Regions from separate parts of the Homo sapiens genome. Here regions 2 and 3 are each linked to region 1. Evidence: promoter capture Hi-C in 16 types of primary human blood cells and fetal thymus (Javierre and others, 2016). All regions are on one chromosome and are shown on one strand. The core of a region is centred on a gene start or on the middle of the fragment in contact, and the rest is flanking DNA. Distances in the headings are between cores, read along the strand shown. Region 1 holds the start of RAB31 (RAB31, member RAS oncogene family). Region 2 overlaps RAB31 (RAB31, member RAS oncogene family). Region 3 overlaps PPP4R1 (protein phosphatase 4 regulatory subunit 1).

The links. Contacts are between HindIII fragments. The CHiCAGO score rates a contact against its expected background, and 5 or more counts as called.
Region 2: a fragment that was not itself captured here is called in contact with the fragment with the promoter of RAB31 in region 1 in 1 of 17 cell types (monocytes); the score reaches 5.5 in monocytes.
Region 3: a fragment that was not itself captured here is called in contact with the fragment with the promoter of RAB31 in region 1 in 1 of 17 cell types (neutrophils); the score reaches 6.3 in neutrophils.

What each region holds. Positions count from the first base shown.
Region 1 is chr18:9,705,356-9,710,441 of GRCh38, reverse strand. RAB31 (RAB31, member RAS oncogene family) reads right to left here and starts at 2,141. Exons shown (of 7, transcript NM_006868.4): 1 at 1,998-2,141. The coding sequence starts at 2,036. LOC124904244 (a long non-coding RNA gene) reads left to right here and starts at 2,470. Exons shown (of 2, transcript XR_007066281.1): 1 at 2,470-5,086. LOC105371981 (a long non-coding RNA gene) reads right to left here and starts at 1,770. Exons shown (of 2, transcript XR_935131.2): 1 at 449-1,770. RefSeq lists silencers at 1,547-1,776, 1,877-2,446. The HindIII fragment of the contact is 11,750 bases long and covers 1-5,086 here.
Region 2 is chr18:9,822,655-9,827,740 of GRCh38, reverse strand. The region is part of intron 5 of RAB31 (RAB31, member RAS oncogene family); the gene reads right to left. Among named protein-coding and RNA genes, the nearest start is that of TXNDC2, 61 kb to the left of the region's middle. The HindIII fragment of the contact is 822 bases long and covers 2,407-3,228 here.
Region 3 is chr18:9,596,579-9,601,664 of GRCh38, reverse strand. All of the region lies in intron 2 of PPP4R1 (protein phosphatase 4 regulatory subunit 1), which reads left to right. Among named protein-coding and RNA genes, the nearest start is that of PPP4R1, 15 kb to the left of the region's middle. The HindIII fragment of the contact is 2,232 bases long and covers 1,761-3,992 here.

The DNA of each region.
Region 1 (5,086 bases), core at 892-3,391:
GCCACTCAAAGAGTGTGTATCTTTCTTGGAGATAAAAGAAGTAAAGAGATTTCCTCCAGCTTCCTCCTCTCCCAGGTTTGCTAATTGGCACCCTGAACTCATAGATTAGCAGGAAATGGTAACATGTATCTTAAGAGATCATCTGGTGTAGTCCTCTGCCTAAAGGGGGAACATGTTATTATGCCCATTTCATAGATGAGGCCACTGAGTTGCTTTGCTAAAACGACACAGCTCTTTGGTGGGAAAGAACGAGAGCCTAGGTTTCCTGCCTCTTGACACAGGGTTCTTGCCACCTGATCAGTGTCCTGGTAGGAGGACATAGAGACCTGTCCCTAAACACCGAAACTGAAAATAAGGGGTCCTGTGACACGGCAGGGCTTGGACCACCTCAGTAAAAGTCAAGAGAAAAGAGTTGCAGAAAAAAAGGCAAAAATATGTCCTATTTCACCTTTCCCAAGGCCAGTCCTGACAAACACGGCACATCAAGGCTGCCTCTTCATTCCTTGGAACACGACATTCCTTCTAAGTCTCTGAAGGCCTTTCCTGAGGCTGAAATGGCCCCTCAAGAGGGAAGCATGGGATTCCTGGAATTTATGTCTGGAAATATTAGAGGGCCTGGGGAACAGGAAAACCCACTCCTGCCACACAAAAAGGTCAACAGAGAAAGACCAGACTAGATCCTGGCTGTGGCTGAGCAAGTCGGGGGAGGTGGGGATCTGTGCGGATCTGTGCCAGGGGCTAGCAGGGAGGGCAGGGCCTTCCCAGATCCTCTGGAATTCTAAGCCAACCGGACAATCGAGTTAGCGTAAGGGATGGTTTTGGAAGAGGCCGGTGATGGGAGCCGATGATGGGAGCCTGCCGGAGGTTCCACAAGAGCCTAGAGGAAGCCTAGAGACGCTGGCACAATTCAGTCCTCACCGAAATCATTTCCTCTTTCTACAGTTCTTGTACCCCCATCTTGACAGATCAGTTCGCACAAGAATGCGACCCTTTCGCTGCCCTTTTTTAGGAAATGGTTTTCATGAGACCAGCTTTGCCAATGACACGGGCGGGTACACCAGATGCTAATGGCTGCTGAAAACGCCCTTAGAACCGGCTCTTCTTTTAGAAGAAGGAATTCTGGAATGCGGAGTGGGCCCCCGAAAGGAAGCGACCCTACGTTTATCTGAATTCCCAGGGGCGGTTCGCCAGCGGCTCCCTGCGTCCTCGCCGGGTCCCCTGTCTGCAGTCCCCGGGCCGCACGGATTGACTGCTTTTTTGTTTCTGGCTGCTTTAAGGCTTCTTCGGGCGGAGAAAACCCCACTTTAGGGGAGTGATGGTGGGGAGGACTTTCCCAGGCAGCTTCTTTCACCCGCAGCAGGGAAGTTTGCAGGGCGCGCTCCGCACAGGTCACTGCCTCACCTTCCACCCCGGCCGCGCCCTCGGCTTTCACCCCCTTGGCTGGGTTCGCTTTTGGTTTTATTTTTCTGTTTTACGTGAGTAAATCAATTGCCCCCAGGAGGCAAAAGAGCACTCAGCGACTTGGCTGAGCAACTTAAACTTTCTGCCGGAAGGAAACTATCAAAAGCGGAGGAGAAAGCCCTCGGGGCCCCAGACTCGCCGCCACTGCCCCGTCCCCGCTGGGGGTCCCCGCGAGGTCGCCGCGGATCCGGGGACTCGCGGGCCGGGAGGAAAGAGCGGAGTAAGCCCGGGGCAGGCTCGGACCCGGACCCCGGCAGGGTGAGAGCGGGGGCGGACCAGAGGGGCGCACGGACGGCGGGGAGGCGGAGAACAGGCGGGGTGCGGAGAGCGAGGGGCGCGGAGAGCGAGGGGCGCACGGACTAGGGGAGCCAGGGGGACCCGGGGAACCAGGGGGCGCGCGGACGAGGGGGACGGGGGCTACGAGAGGGGTGCGGAGAGCGAGGGGATCACGGGGACTGAGCGCGCAGGGAATAGGGGAGCGAAGGGGCGCGAGAGCGCGGGCCGGGGTCCGCCGGCGGGTGGCGGCCAGGACTCACCCCGAGAAGGCACACTTTGAGCTCCCGTATCGCCATCATGTGCTCGCAGCCAGGCAGTGCCGGGGCTCAGCAGCATCCTCCGGGGCCGCCGCGCCCGCGCCCCGCCGGCGTCTCTCGCCTCTGCCCCTCGCTCGCGCCGCCCGCGGGCGGAACCGCCGCCGCTGCTATTTCTGGGCCGCCGGCCCCGCCGCGGTGGGTCACGTGGCCGCCGGCCGGCTCCTCCCGGGCGCGTCGGGTCCAGCCTCGCCGGCCCCCAGCTCCCAGGAACGCCCCCGGACGGCGTCAGCCACCCGGGACCTGCGGCGTCGCCGGCGGATTGCCTCCGCCCTCGGACCAGCCCCGCGCGGGTCGGCCTCCCCCAGCGCCCTCCGGCATCCGCCCCTCCCGGCCCCGCCTGGCCGCAGGGCCCGGGTGGGTAGGAAGGACTGGACCGGCCCTGTGGAGACCTGGCCCCACTACCAGCGGGTCCCTGAAGATGCCATTCTCATCTGGAAAGCGAATGCTCTCGGCCGAGGCCGTTTGCGTGGCAGCGCGTGGAGGTCTGCGGGGGTCCCATCCTCAAGCGACATTCTGGGTCCCACGCAGAAAAAGTCAGGCCACTGAAGGGGCCGCTGTGAGGACAGGGGTGAGGAGAAGGGGGCTAACTTTTCGGCCTGCCTTTCTCGACGTTCCTAATACCCGAGCTTCCGTTTAACATATGTGTGGCTCTTCAGCTCAGCCAAGTTCATTTTTCTGTATGCAGCTGAAAATGATTCTAGAAGCAAAACTCGCTGTCCGTGTCTGAAACGGGAAACTTGCTTTCTGGAGCAAAAGTCTTTTTCTCAGTAGAGCAAATCCTGCAACTCGTGTGGGCAGAAACCCAGTCCTCAGAGGTACAGGTAGAAACGTGGAGATCCCAGCAGACCCCTGCATCGTTCCTAACTGGGAAATGAGCAGAGTCTGTGGCCGCACACAGTCGGGGAGGCTTGGGTAACTGTGTTCTCTTCTCCATGTATGGCCTAGAGCACCTCATCCACTCGGATGACTTCATTCGTTGCTGCTACAGAAATGTCAGCCTTTTCAATGTAATCTATCTGAACAATTCACTGGCATTTCAGATGGGAAATGTTTTTTTAAAAACTGATTTTTTGAAACTTCATCTCCTATCCCAAACTCTCAGGCCTCTCTCTTAACCTTCCAATTTTAATCAATGGCATTTCCATTCTCCTAGCAGACCACCCACCGTGATCATCTGGCTTTGTTCTTACGGAAGCCAGGTTGAAGCTACCCAGTACCCAAGTAGCCCCATCCAATGGGAAATTCCAAATCAAGGCCTCCAAAGAGATAAGTCCTGGAATACAGGAGTCAAAATGGGCCCCGAAACAGACAATTCACAATTAAATTCCCCAGAAGAGCAGGAAGTTTGCCCTCGAGGTGCAGGCTTGTAGAGATTACTCAAATGGACTAAACTGTACAAAAGGCAGCCATGGACAAGTTACAGGTCCATTGTATCAGTATCCGTCCTTGACTCTGTATCCAAAGCAGAGTCTTCTATGTGGGCAGGGTAAAAAGAGGCTTCCCCAGAATCAAACAGTCCTGATCACAATATCTCCCTGCCCTCAGATTTGCTAATCAGAAAACCACCCCTACACAGTTGCAAAGACACCTCCCCCAAGGCCTTCGCCAGCCCTGAGGGCACCTCCACAGTGAAACATGTCCTTTTGGCTTTCCAGCTTGATTCCCAAAAGCCAGTCAAACCAGGGTGGAAGCCTCCACTGTGTTCTACATCCCGTGCAGTGAGTGGAGCTTTGTGAAGTTGCCTTAGATTGCTAAGGGCAGAACTGTGCCCAGACAGAAATAGGCAAACCGAATTTCTCTTGTGTTCCCTTACTCTTTTTCATGACTGCTCTCATTCTGCTCTCTTCTCCACTAGCCCGGGTGTCTGGGACGCTTGCGTCGTTTCTAGGCTCTCCCAAAAGAGTCTCGTATCCAGCCCTTCCCTCCCTGAGAATCGCCCCAGTCTATTTGTCCTTCTCCCCTCCCCTAGTTCTGTTAAAAATGACCTCATTTGTGTCTCATTCTGATCAGGTCTTGGGCTCTTCTTTACAAAGTGGCAATCCTAGTCTGTCAACTGACTCGTGTTCATGGGTTTATACCCTCTTCCCAGCCAGGTCACCCCTGAGCTTAAACATGGCCTCATGAAAACCAGGTCCCCATGATCACCCTAAGGTAACCTACAAAGCTCTAGCCCTGGAAGGCAGGAAGATGACTGCTGGGAGACATATTTTAAGAGTGACACGTCAGAGGCAGCTCTCGACTTTTTAAAAAAGTGCCATGTTCTCTATTGTTACACTCTATGATTACTGTACTAAGGGCCCATCCTGACTTCTCTGGAATTTTCTGCAAATATGTAGTTCTGGTGTAACTTCAGCAGGGGTAAAAATTCAATGGTACATAACTGACAATTTATCAAATTAAGAAATAGAACATGCAAGTTTTTCTTATAAGAATTTTGTAACGTAAATGGTCATTGTGCTAATTCAGACCTCAACTTCTCTGCTGCTATAAAGTCTCCAACAGAAAAAGCCAGTAATGGTCATAAAACTGATCATGTTTTTTGATTCAGGAAATCCTTTTTTGAACAATAACATACAAAGACGAAAAGTAAACAAAGCTGCCTGTTTGAATATAAACACATATGCAGACAAAAAAAACAAATAAATGGGTTAGAGAAACAACAACAAAAAAATTACATCCATGGAGGTAAAGGGAGGATTGTTGCGTTAATTGTAACTCAAACCTCTTAACACTTGAGGAATGATTAAGCAAGCTAGGGTGTCGTTACTGGGTATATTTGATGGTGTACAATAGTATATGTTACTTAGATATTAAATGAAATGTGTATACTATGTAGATTTATAGAGACGTTTATAGTAAATAAGGTTCTGTGAAAATAATATGACTCAAAATGTTAAATAGGATAAGCAATATAAATGTGTCACAACGCCCTGGAGTGCAGGCTGATCCCTGGAGACCAGTACTGAGTCATCTGGTCTGCTCAAGGGCCAATTAAGGAAAGATAAAAATGTTTACAAACCTTGTTTTTCATA
Region 2 (5,086 bases), core at 1,568-4,067, 120 kb before region 1:
TAATTTCCTTCCTCCTACCCTACCCTATTTTCACTTCTAACACTAGATGCCCTTTGTCTTGGTGTATGACCTCTACTCCAGGAAGGAATTCTGGACTCCCTGGCAGCAGTCCCACCCATCCCTCCCAATGTTTCTGTAAGAGGCACCAGAGTGCTTCCGTAAGATGTTAAGAGACCATGATTCCATCCCTCAGAAGAGGCGAGAGTGCATGAGAACAGCCCCTGAGCATCTCCTGGGTTGTATTCATGGGGAGGGTAGGAGGAATCTTAGGCAGAGGCAGCCAGTGACAGCAGAGCCATCTCAAGGTCATTACCCACCACCTCTGAGAAGAAAGTTCTCCCACTTCCCAACCCAGCCCCCATCGTCACTGTTGTTGGGTAACTTCCCACTGCTACCACTTGTAAGATAAAATAAACTAGGTCTGAGGGGTCTTCTCCCATCGGCACTTCCTGATCCCTCCCTCATCCTTCTGATTCATTCGTGGCCCTAAATACACCAGTGAGAGGTGGAATTTCAAGGAAATGCCAACAGGAGACCCCTGAGCTTGAAAAGCAGTTCCATTAGAAGCCATGAAATGAAGGCCAATGTCCAAAAATGACCAGGAAAGCCTGAAAGAGTTTCAAATTGGGAAGAGTCAAAGGGGATTTGTGTAGAGCCAAGAATTCAAAATCAGGAAAACAAGATCAAGCAGAAGAAATGTAGAACTAGAACCTGCTATGCGGAATGTATGGGGTTGGAGTAATTTCTCCCAAGGAATGACTTATTATGGCAGCTATAGGTCAAGGCTGCCCATGCTTGTCAGAGGAAGTGTGAGGGAGTGATTCTTGCTTAAGGGCCAGGGTGGGATAGGATATGCTCTTCTTCCTCTGACCTTCCCTCCTTCGCGGAGGATCCTGGCCACATGGCCCTAAAGCAAATGGTTCCTGAAATACCTGCAGGTCCTCTCACAGAGGTCCCAAAGCCAGGTACCCTTAACCCCTTACCCAAGCCAAAGGCAACCAAGCACAGGCTGGATATAAGGGAGTCGAACCATCCAGAAGAGGGATCATACATTACTTCAGTTTCACAATAATTTGAGCAGAGGAAGAATTTGTTTAGGGTTGTTCAAAATAGGAAAATCTTTCACCAAGATCAGGAACCTAGAAAAAGATCCAAGCTAAATAGGGTAGCCTCATATTAATTTGAACCCAATCACATCTCTTCTCCTGGTGATTATGAATGTGGGGTGTGAAAGGGGGCAGAGAGGCCCTGGAAATGCTTTGGAAGAGATTAAAGATGAAGGGCCAATGGTGTCACTTTTGTGTTTTGTGTGTGTGTTTTTTTAAATAATTTCAACTTTTTTGTTTGTTTGTTTGTTTGTATTTTGAGACAATGTCTCGCTCTGTCACCCAGGCTGGAATGCAGTGGTGCGATCTCAGCTCACTGCAACCTCTGCCTCCTGGGTTCAAGCAATTCTCATGTGTCAGCCTCCCAAGTAGCTGGGATTACAGGCGTGTGCCACCACACCTGGCTAATTTTTGTATTTTTAGTAGAGGGGGGTTTCATCATGTTGGCCAGGCTGGTCTTGAACTCCCAACCTCAGGTAAGCTGCCCACCTCAGCCTCCCAACATGTTGGGATTACAGGTGTGAGCCACCCTGACCAGCCAATAATTTCAACTTTTATTTTAGATTCAGAGGGGTACGTGTGCAGGTTTGTTACATGGGTATGCGGGGTGACACTGAGGTTTGGGGTACAATTGATTCTGTCACCCACGTACTGAGCACAAGAGGAAGTTTTGCAACTGTCCCCCACTCCTTCCTGCCTCTGAAGCTCCCAGTGTCTGTTTCCATCTTTATGTCCGTGAGTGCCCAATGCTTACTTCCCCTTATAAGTAAGAACATGCAGTATTTGATTTTCTGTTCCTGGATTAATTTGCTTAGGATAATGGGTGACACTTTTGAATCCTGAAAGATGATGAGTCATTGTTTTCATTCTCCAGGAAGCCTGAAGGGCAAGAGAGAAGCCCAGACAGTGCAGCCTGCAGTTAGAGACCTGTACAGATGCCAGGATAGATTCTGGGACTTCCTCATTCTTCTCTACCATAAACTCCTACTGACGAAAGCAATGCTTTTCCGAGAATGACCCTTGGACCACTTGTAAAAGGATCACTTTTTAAAATGCACATACCCTTGCCTGCCTCTTCCTATTGAATCAAAATCTCTGGACCTGGTTCCTAGAACTGGAATTTTTAACAAGTGCACTATGGTTTCTTGAATTCATGAAACTTTTAAAACCACTGAGGCAAGGTTACAACCTATTTCTCTTTTTTTCTTTGCAAGACTCAACTGCCCTGTTTTTCCCACCAGACCCAGGAAAAGGACATGCAGCGTCCTGTAGGGCTCTCCAGACTTTCTGAGACAAAGCTTTCTTTTCTATTTAGACCCTAGGCCAATCTGCTGTCCTAGAATAGCACAGACCTTGAATTAGCCCCATGCCATGTGCTACTTGTTCAGAAACTTGCTGCCAGCCCCAGCTCGCACACAGACTAGGTTCTCCTGCCATCTTGACCAGGCAAGTCAGCTGGTACCCCAGATCCTGTGGATTCAATCCATTTGAGGTTCTTATTTTCTTGCAACTCTGACAATCCCTTAAATGTCCCCAACTGTGCAAGCCTAACTCCAGCATCAGCAGATGGTGGAGAGAACAGAATGGCCTGCCCCACCAGGAACTGCACACTCTCCACCCCTGGGAGCTGTGACCAGAACATTCATGGGGAGGGAGAAGAGCGGCAGGAAGGACGGGGGGTTACACCCCTGAGCACCTACTCTGTGCAAGTCCAGGACAGTCTTCTCACATTCCACTTTGCTTTCATGCCTCAAATTCAGAGGGACCATACATTACTTCAGTTTCACAATAATTTGAGCAGGGGAGATTTTGTTTAGGGTTGTTCAAGATAGGAAAATCTCTCACCAAGATCAGGAACCTAGAAAAAAATCCAAGCTAAAAATCCTGAGTGTACCTGACCGGATGCCTCTGAATGCCTTCCACTCTGGGAGTGGGGCGGACCTTTATACCATCTTCTGGAACATGCAAGAAGATGAAACACACTGAACAGGCATCTCTGCCAAGTACTTCTGCACTCAAATGCCTTAAGTGGGCTGAGCCAAGGTTGGAGGGCGAATTCCATTTCCATCCAGCAAATTCTCAAAATAGGCCAGGCAGAGCTCCTTCCAAGAATTGACAAGCTTACACAACCAAAGTGTGTTGGATGAGATCAGTTCCACCAACACACACACACCTACACACACACATCTACACACACACTCATACACACACATCTACACACACTCATATACACATACATCTACACACACACATACACATCTACACACACACACCTATACACACATCTACACACACATTTATACACACATACATCTACACACACATACACATCTACACACACATACACACACATCTACATACACATCTACACACACACTCATACACACATACATCTACACACACACATACACACACACATACAAACACATCTACATCCACACATATCTACACACACATATCTACATACTGTCCTGCTACAACCCTCAGTTAAAAATCAAATACAGTTTTCTGGGAATTACAGGAGAGCAAAGTACTTTGGGATTAGAGTAAAAGAAGGTCAAGCTCTGAATAAGGTCTGGGGTTTAGAGGTTTGGCTAACTCCCCAGAAAAGTTATATCAGCAGGCAGAATCTGGAGCAGCCAGATTGCTGACCAAGAACCGATTCCCCCACCATAGAAACGTGTCAACAAGCCGGTGCCCACTAGGTTCCCAGGCCCTATCACTTACCGACTATTCCTGTCTCACAGGAGACAGACATTCTGGGCAGAGACCCAGGCAGCAGTCTTCCCCTTCCCTCTTTCCTAAATGGGAATTTTTAATACAGTTACCCTGTTTATCTTTTGTACCTTAGGTGTGCTGGAGATGGTTAATTTAATCATTTGGCCCAGTGTGTTTACAAAATTTTTGTCAAATACATCCCCCTTTGTAATTTTTGCCATGTGTATATAATATATATAATGCATATGTATCACACATACCCTCACCTGACTGTTCCAATATTTATTATTTTTATCTAAATCAACTTTTTGTTAATCAGATTTTTTACTGAGATAACCGTAGATTCGTTTACATGCAGTTGTAAGAAACAGTACCAAGCGATTTCTCATACACTTCGCCCAGTTTCCCTAAATGGTCACATCTTGAAAAACTATGGTATAATATCACAAAGAGGACATTGTCATTGATGCATTCTATCTTATTCAGATTTCTCCAGTTTTACTTGTATGCACTTATGTATGTGAGTTAAGCTGTATACAATTTTACCACCTGTGTAGGTTCCTGTGTCCACCACCACAGAGAAGATACCAAGCAGTGCCGACACCACAGGGTCCCTTATGTTGCTCTTTCAAACCCATGCCCACTTTCCTCCCCGTCCCCCACCCCTACTTCCCCTTATGATAGGCCCTGGCAATCAGTAATCTATCCTCTATTTCTAAAATGTTATATAAATGGAACCATGCAATGTGAAACCTTTGGGACTGGCTTCATTCACTCGGCACAATTCCCCTGAAGATGCATTTCGAGCTGTGTGTATCAGCAGTTTGCCTCCTTTTAGTGCTGAGTAGTAGTCCATGGTATGGATGCACCACAGTTTGTTTAGCCATTCGTAACTGAAGGACATCTGGGCTGATCCCAGTTTAGGACTATTACAAATAACGTGTCTATGAATATTCATGTGCAGGTTTTGTGTGAACATAAGTTTTCATTTCTCCAGGATAAATGCCCGTGAATGTGATTGCCAGGCCATATGGTAACTGCACGTTTAGTTTTATAAGAAACTGCCAAACTGTTTTCCAGAGTGGCTGTGCCATTTTGCATTCACACCGGCAACGTATGGATGACTCAGTTTTTCCATATCCTCACCAGCATTAGGTGTTGTCGCTGATTTTTATTTTAGCCATTCTGATAGGTTTGATGATGATATTGAACGTCGCCTTATATCCTTCCTCACCATCTTCCTATTCTCTCAGGTGAAATGT
Region 3 (5,086 bases), core at 1,627-4,126, 110 kb after region 1:
AAAAATTAGCCAGGTGTTGTGGCGCCTGCCTGTAATTCCAGCTGCTCAAGAGGCTGAGGCATAAGAATTGCTTGAACCTGGGAGGCGGAGGTTGCAGTGAGCTGAGATCACTTTTTAAAAAAATTATTTATTTATTTTGGAGACAGAGTCTCACTCTGTCACCCAGGCTGGAGTGCAGCAGTGCCATCTTGGCTCACTGCAACCTCTACTTCCCAGGTTCAAGTGATTCTTGTGATTCAGCCTCCCAAGTAGCTGGAATTTCAGGCACGTACCACCATGCCTGACTAATTTCTTTGTATTTTTAGTAGAGAAGGGGTTTTACCATGTTGGCCAGGCTGGTCTCGAACTCCTAACCTCTAAGTGATCTACCTGCCTCAGCCTCCCACAGTGCTGGGATTACAGGCATGAGCCACCGTTCCCGGCCAGTATATGCTTTTTTTTTTTTCCCCAAAAAAAAAAACAACAGTAACAATAACAACCTGGTTTGAACACTGTATTGCATGCTTTTTGGTCATTTAAAAAATTCAGATAACATTAAAAGGTGATGTATGGTTTTTTTACTTCATCAGTGAAAGAGGCTGGATTTTAAAAGCCATGGAACAGTATAGGGCTATTGCTGCTATTACAGTGTTCAAGAATCTGTAAACTTTAGTTATGCAGAGCTACATAAGAATTCAAGAGTCTTGAAGTACTAATGTCTCCATTTCTAGTAATACTCCTTGTCTTTGATCTATTTTGTCTCATAATAATATAGCCACTCCAGCTTTTTTTCTTTTTTCTTTTTTTGAGACATTCTCACTCTGTCACCCAGGCTGGAGTGCAGTGGAGCTATATCAGCTTACTGAAATGTCTGCCTCCCGTACTCAAGTGATCCCCCCACCTCAGGCTCCCAAGTAGCAGGGATCACAGGTGTGCACCACCACCCCCAGCTAATATTTTTGTATCTTTTATAGAGATGGGGTTTCACCATGTTGCCCAGGCTGGTCTCATCTCAAACTCCTGAGCTCCAGCAATCCACCTACCTCAGCCTCCCAAAGTGCTGGGATTATTGGCGTGAGCCACCACACCCGGCCTCCAGCTTTCTTATGCTTACTATTTTGTGTTATATCTTTTTAAAAAACTATTTTCAACCTAATGGTTGAAATTTTGTCTTTAAAAATGTATCTCTGGTAGTCAGACTATATTTCTGATAGTCTGATAATCTTTGCCTTTTAAATGAAATATTTTAGTCCATTTATATTTAATGTAATTATTGATCTAGTTGCATTTAGGTCTGTGATTCTGCTATTTATTTTCTGTTTGACTTATGGTTTTTTCCTCTGTTACTCCTTTCCAGACTTTATTTTGGGTTAGCTGAATATTTTTTAGTACTCAATTTTAGTTTCTCCATTATCTTTCTAGCTATACCTTCTAGTGTGTTTCAGAGATTACTCCTAGGATTGTAATTTTTTTTTTTTTTTTTTTTTTTGGGAAATAGAAGTGAACATTTGTCACCAGTGTCTGTACCAGAGTGGAACACTCCCTTTGTATGGAAGTGATTATCAATCATGATAGAGTGATAGCAAAACATTTGAAGCAGAATATGATTTTGTTACCTTCTAGGAGTAGGCTTCTTAAGTATGGTTGTATAACAGTCTGCATTTAAATTAGTGGGGTTATTCATTTAAAAATAAATGCTCCTGAGCCTTACTCCAGACTAACATAATCAGTATCTGAGTGTGGGATCTAGGTATCTGCATTTTAGGTAAGTGCCACAAGCTTGTCTTGAACATAATTATGTTTGACAGTCACAGCTGTAGGAGTTTTTTCCCACTGCCCTTTGCTTTTTATGGGCCAGAATCAATTTTATTGTTTATCTTTAAGATTAACAAGTATGAGACTGATGAAACAGTTTGGTCATAGTCATAGAATTCTACAGCCTTTATAAAGGTGCTTCAAGGTTATGCTAGCTTAACAGTCTTATAAAGGAGAAAACTGAGGCCAGATGAGAGTGGCTGAGTGGCTTTTACAGCTCTGATTTATAATTAATAAGGTATTTTGCTATGAATTGTAGACAGAATAAGCTGCAGTGTATAATTATGTTCATGGTTAGGTGTTGTTTGTAATCCAATTTGACAGTCTCTGCCTTTAGTTGGGCTATTTAGACCATTTGCAGTTAATGTAGTTACTGATATGGTTGTGTTTAAATCTCTTTATCTTGTTGTTTCTCATTTGTTGTCCCATCTCTTCCTTGTTCCCTTTATTCTCTTTTTCTGCCTTCTTTTAGATTACTTAGGTGGTGTACTGGCTTAGTAGTTATATGTCTTTGGTGTATGTGTGTTTCTTTTTAAATAATGATTGCTTTAGAGTTTATAATTAATATGCATTTTTACCTTTCCACAGTCTAACTTCAAGTAATATGTATCTCTTCACACACAGCGTAAGAGCTTTATAACAGTATACTTTACCCTTTTCCTGCCTTTGTGCTATTATAGTCATACATTATACTTCTACATATGTTGTGAACCCCACAATATATATTTATCCATTTATTTCTTAGTACGTATTTTTATTTAAGCAGTTATCTTAAAGATTTGAAAAATAAGAAATTTTTTATTTATCCCATATTAACCTTTTTTTTTTCTTTCTTTCTTTTTCTGGAGACAGGGTCTTGCTTTGTCTTCCAGACTGGGGTGCAGTGGTGCCATCTCAGGTCACTGCAGCTTTGACCTCCCAGGTTCAAGCAGTCTTCCTGCCTCAGCCCCTTAAGTAGCTGGGACTGCAGGTGCACGCCACCATGCCCAGCTAATTTTTGTATTTTTTTTTAGAGGCAAGGTTTTACTATATTGCCCAGGCTGATCTTGAACTCCTGAGCTCAAGTGATCCATCCGCCTCGGCCTCTCAAAGTGATAAGATTACAGGCGTGAGCCACTGTGCCTGGCCCCATATTAATTGTTTCTGATGTCCTTTATTCTTCTGTATAGATCCAGATTCTCATCTGGTGTAATTTTCCTTTTGCTGGAATGGTTTGCTTTATTATTTCCTATAGTGCATGTCTGCTGTTGATGATGTCAGTTTTTGTGTGGCTGAAAAAAATCTTTATTTCAGCTTCATATTTGAAAGATGTCTTGTTTCTTAGGTATGGAGTTGTAGGTATTTTTCTTTATGTACTTGAAAGATGTTAATGTCTTCTGGCTTGTATTTTAGATGGAAAAGTCTCCTATCATTCTTTTGTTTTTCTCTATGTAACATGAGTTTTTCTCCGGCTGCCTGAAAGTTTTTATCACTAGCTTTAAGCAATTTGATTATATTGTGCCTTGGTATACTTTTCTTCATGTTTCTTGCTCATGGGTTTCATTGAACCCCTTGAATCTGTCTGTAGATTGATAGTTTTTACCAAATTTGGGAAAATTTTGTCCATTATTTCTTCAAATATATTTTATATCTCCCATTCTTCTTTGGGGACTCCATTTGCACATATATTTGGATGCTTGGAGTTTTCCTACAATTGATTGATGCTTAATTCTCTTCCTCCCCCATATTTTTTCTGTTTCATTTAGGATATTTTTCTTACCCTTTTTCTTCAAGGTAACACATTTTTTCCTCTATAATGTTTAATCTGCTCTTGATCCCATCCCGTGTATTTTTCATATCTTTTTTTCATCTCTAAAAGATCAATTTAGGTCTTTCGTATCATCTTCCATCTCTGTTCTTAACATGCTCTTTTTTTCTGCCTTCTTAAATGTATGGAATATAGTTAAAATAACTTTCAATGTTCTTATCTGCTAATTCTATATTTTTTGTCCTGGGTCTGTTTCTGTTGTAGAATTTTTTGCCTCATGGTTTGTATTTTCCTGCCTTTTGTGTGCCTAGTAATTTTTTATTGGATGCTAGACATTGTAGAGTTTACCTTGTTGAGTGCTAGCTATTTTTATATTCATTTACATACTCGAGTTTTGTTCTGTGACACAGTTTCTTGGAGATAGTTTGTTTCTTTTGAAGCCTGTTAAGCTTTGTTAGGCAAAACCAGGAGAATTATTTGCCACTTCTTAGGCGTTTTGCCTCATTTATTTTAGAATTTTTAAAATTTTTGTTGTTGGAGACATAAACTAGTCCTTGTCCTTTGTGATAATCGAGGATTCGTTCACTTGATCGTTTCAGGTAATTATTTTTCCCAGAATACCGACTAGTTTCCTCACACACATAAACTGTTTCAATACTCACCTAAAGACTCAAAGGGACTTTCTGCAGCTTTCTAAAGTTCTTTCTCTGTGAAGGTCCCTCCTCTCTGATACTCTCCCTCTGCCAATTCTAGCTGCCTTGGCCTCCCTGAATTCTCAACTCTGTCTCCTCAACTCCAGGAGTCTGCTGGGATTATATTTGGACCCTCCTAGTGCTCTGGAAATTATTTCCAGGAAGTTAGCTGGAGGAATATAGGGCTCATTTCATTTGTCCTCTCTTTCTCAGAGATCACTGTCCAGTACTGTCTTTTGTCCAGTGTCTGAAACCATGGCTTCGTATGTTTTATCTTTTTTTTAAGAGATGGGGGTCTCACTGTGTTTCTCAGGGGCTAGAGTGCAGTGGCTATTCACAAATGCAGTTATAGAAGAGTACACCCTCGACCTCCCGTGCTCAAACAGTCCTCCTGCTTCAGCCTCCTAAGTAGCTGGGACTACAGACACTATCAGCATGCCTGGCTCTGTCATTTTATTTATTTATTTACCATTTAAGGTGTGAGGGTTAAGTTGGTTCCTGTTAATCCATCCTTTGTCAAAAGTGGAAGATCATGTTTAAGTGTTCTTTAAGTACAGAAGTTATTTTTATTTTAACAAAAGGAACTGTTGTGTTCTCTTTTTGATAATGTTCTGTTGGGAGTAAAAATGTTATCTGTTTAAAGTAGTCAGTTCTGTAAGATGGGCCCATGGTATATACACATTTACTTTAAAAACAAGCATTTTAAAATGCCCTAACAGCAATAACAGTTCATCAGGAAATGATGAATCTTTTCTGTCTCTCATATAGCAACATTTGGGAGGAGTTTCTTAGGTGGTTTTCTTTTTCTCTCTTAAGAGCTAAAGGAGCAACGACAAAATCTCATTGTGAGTGA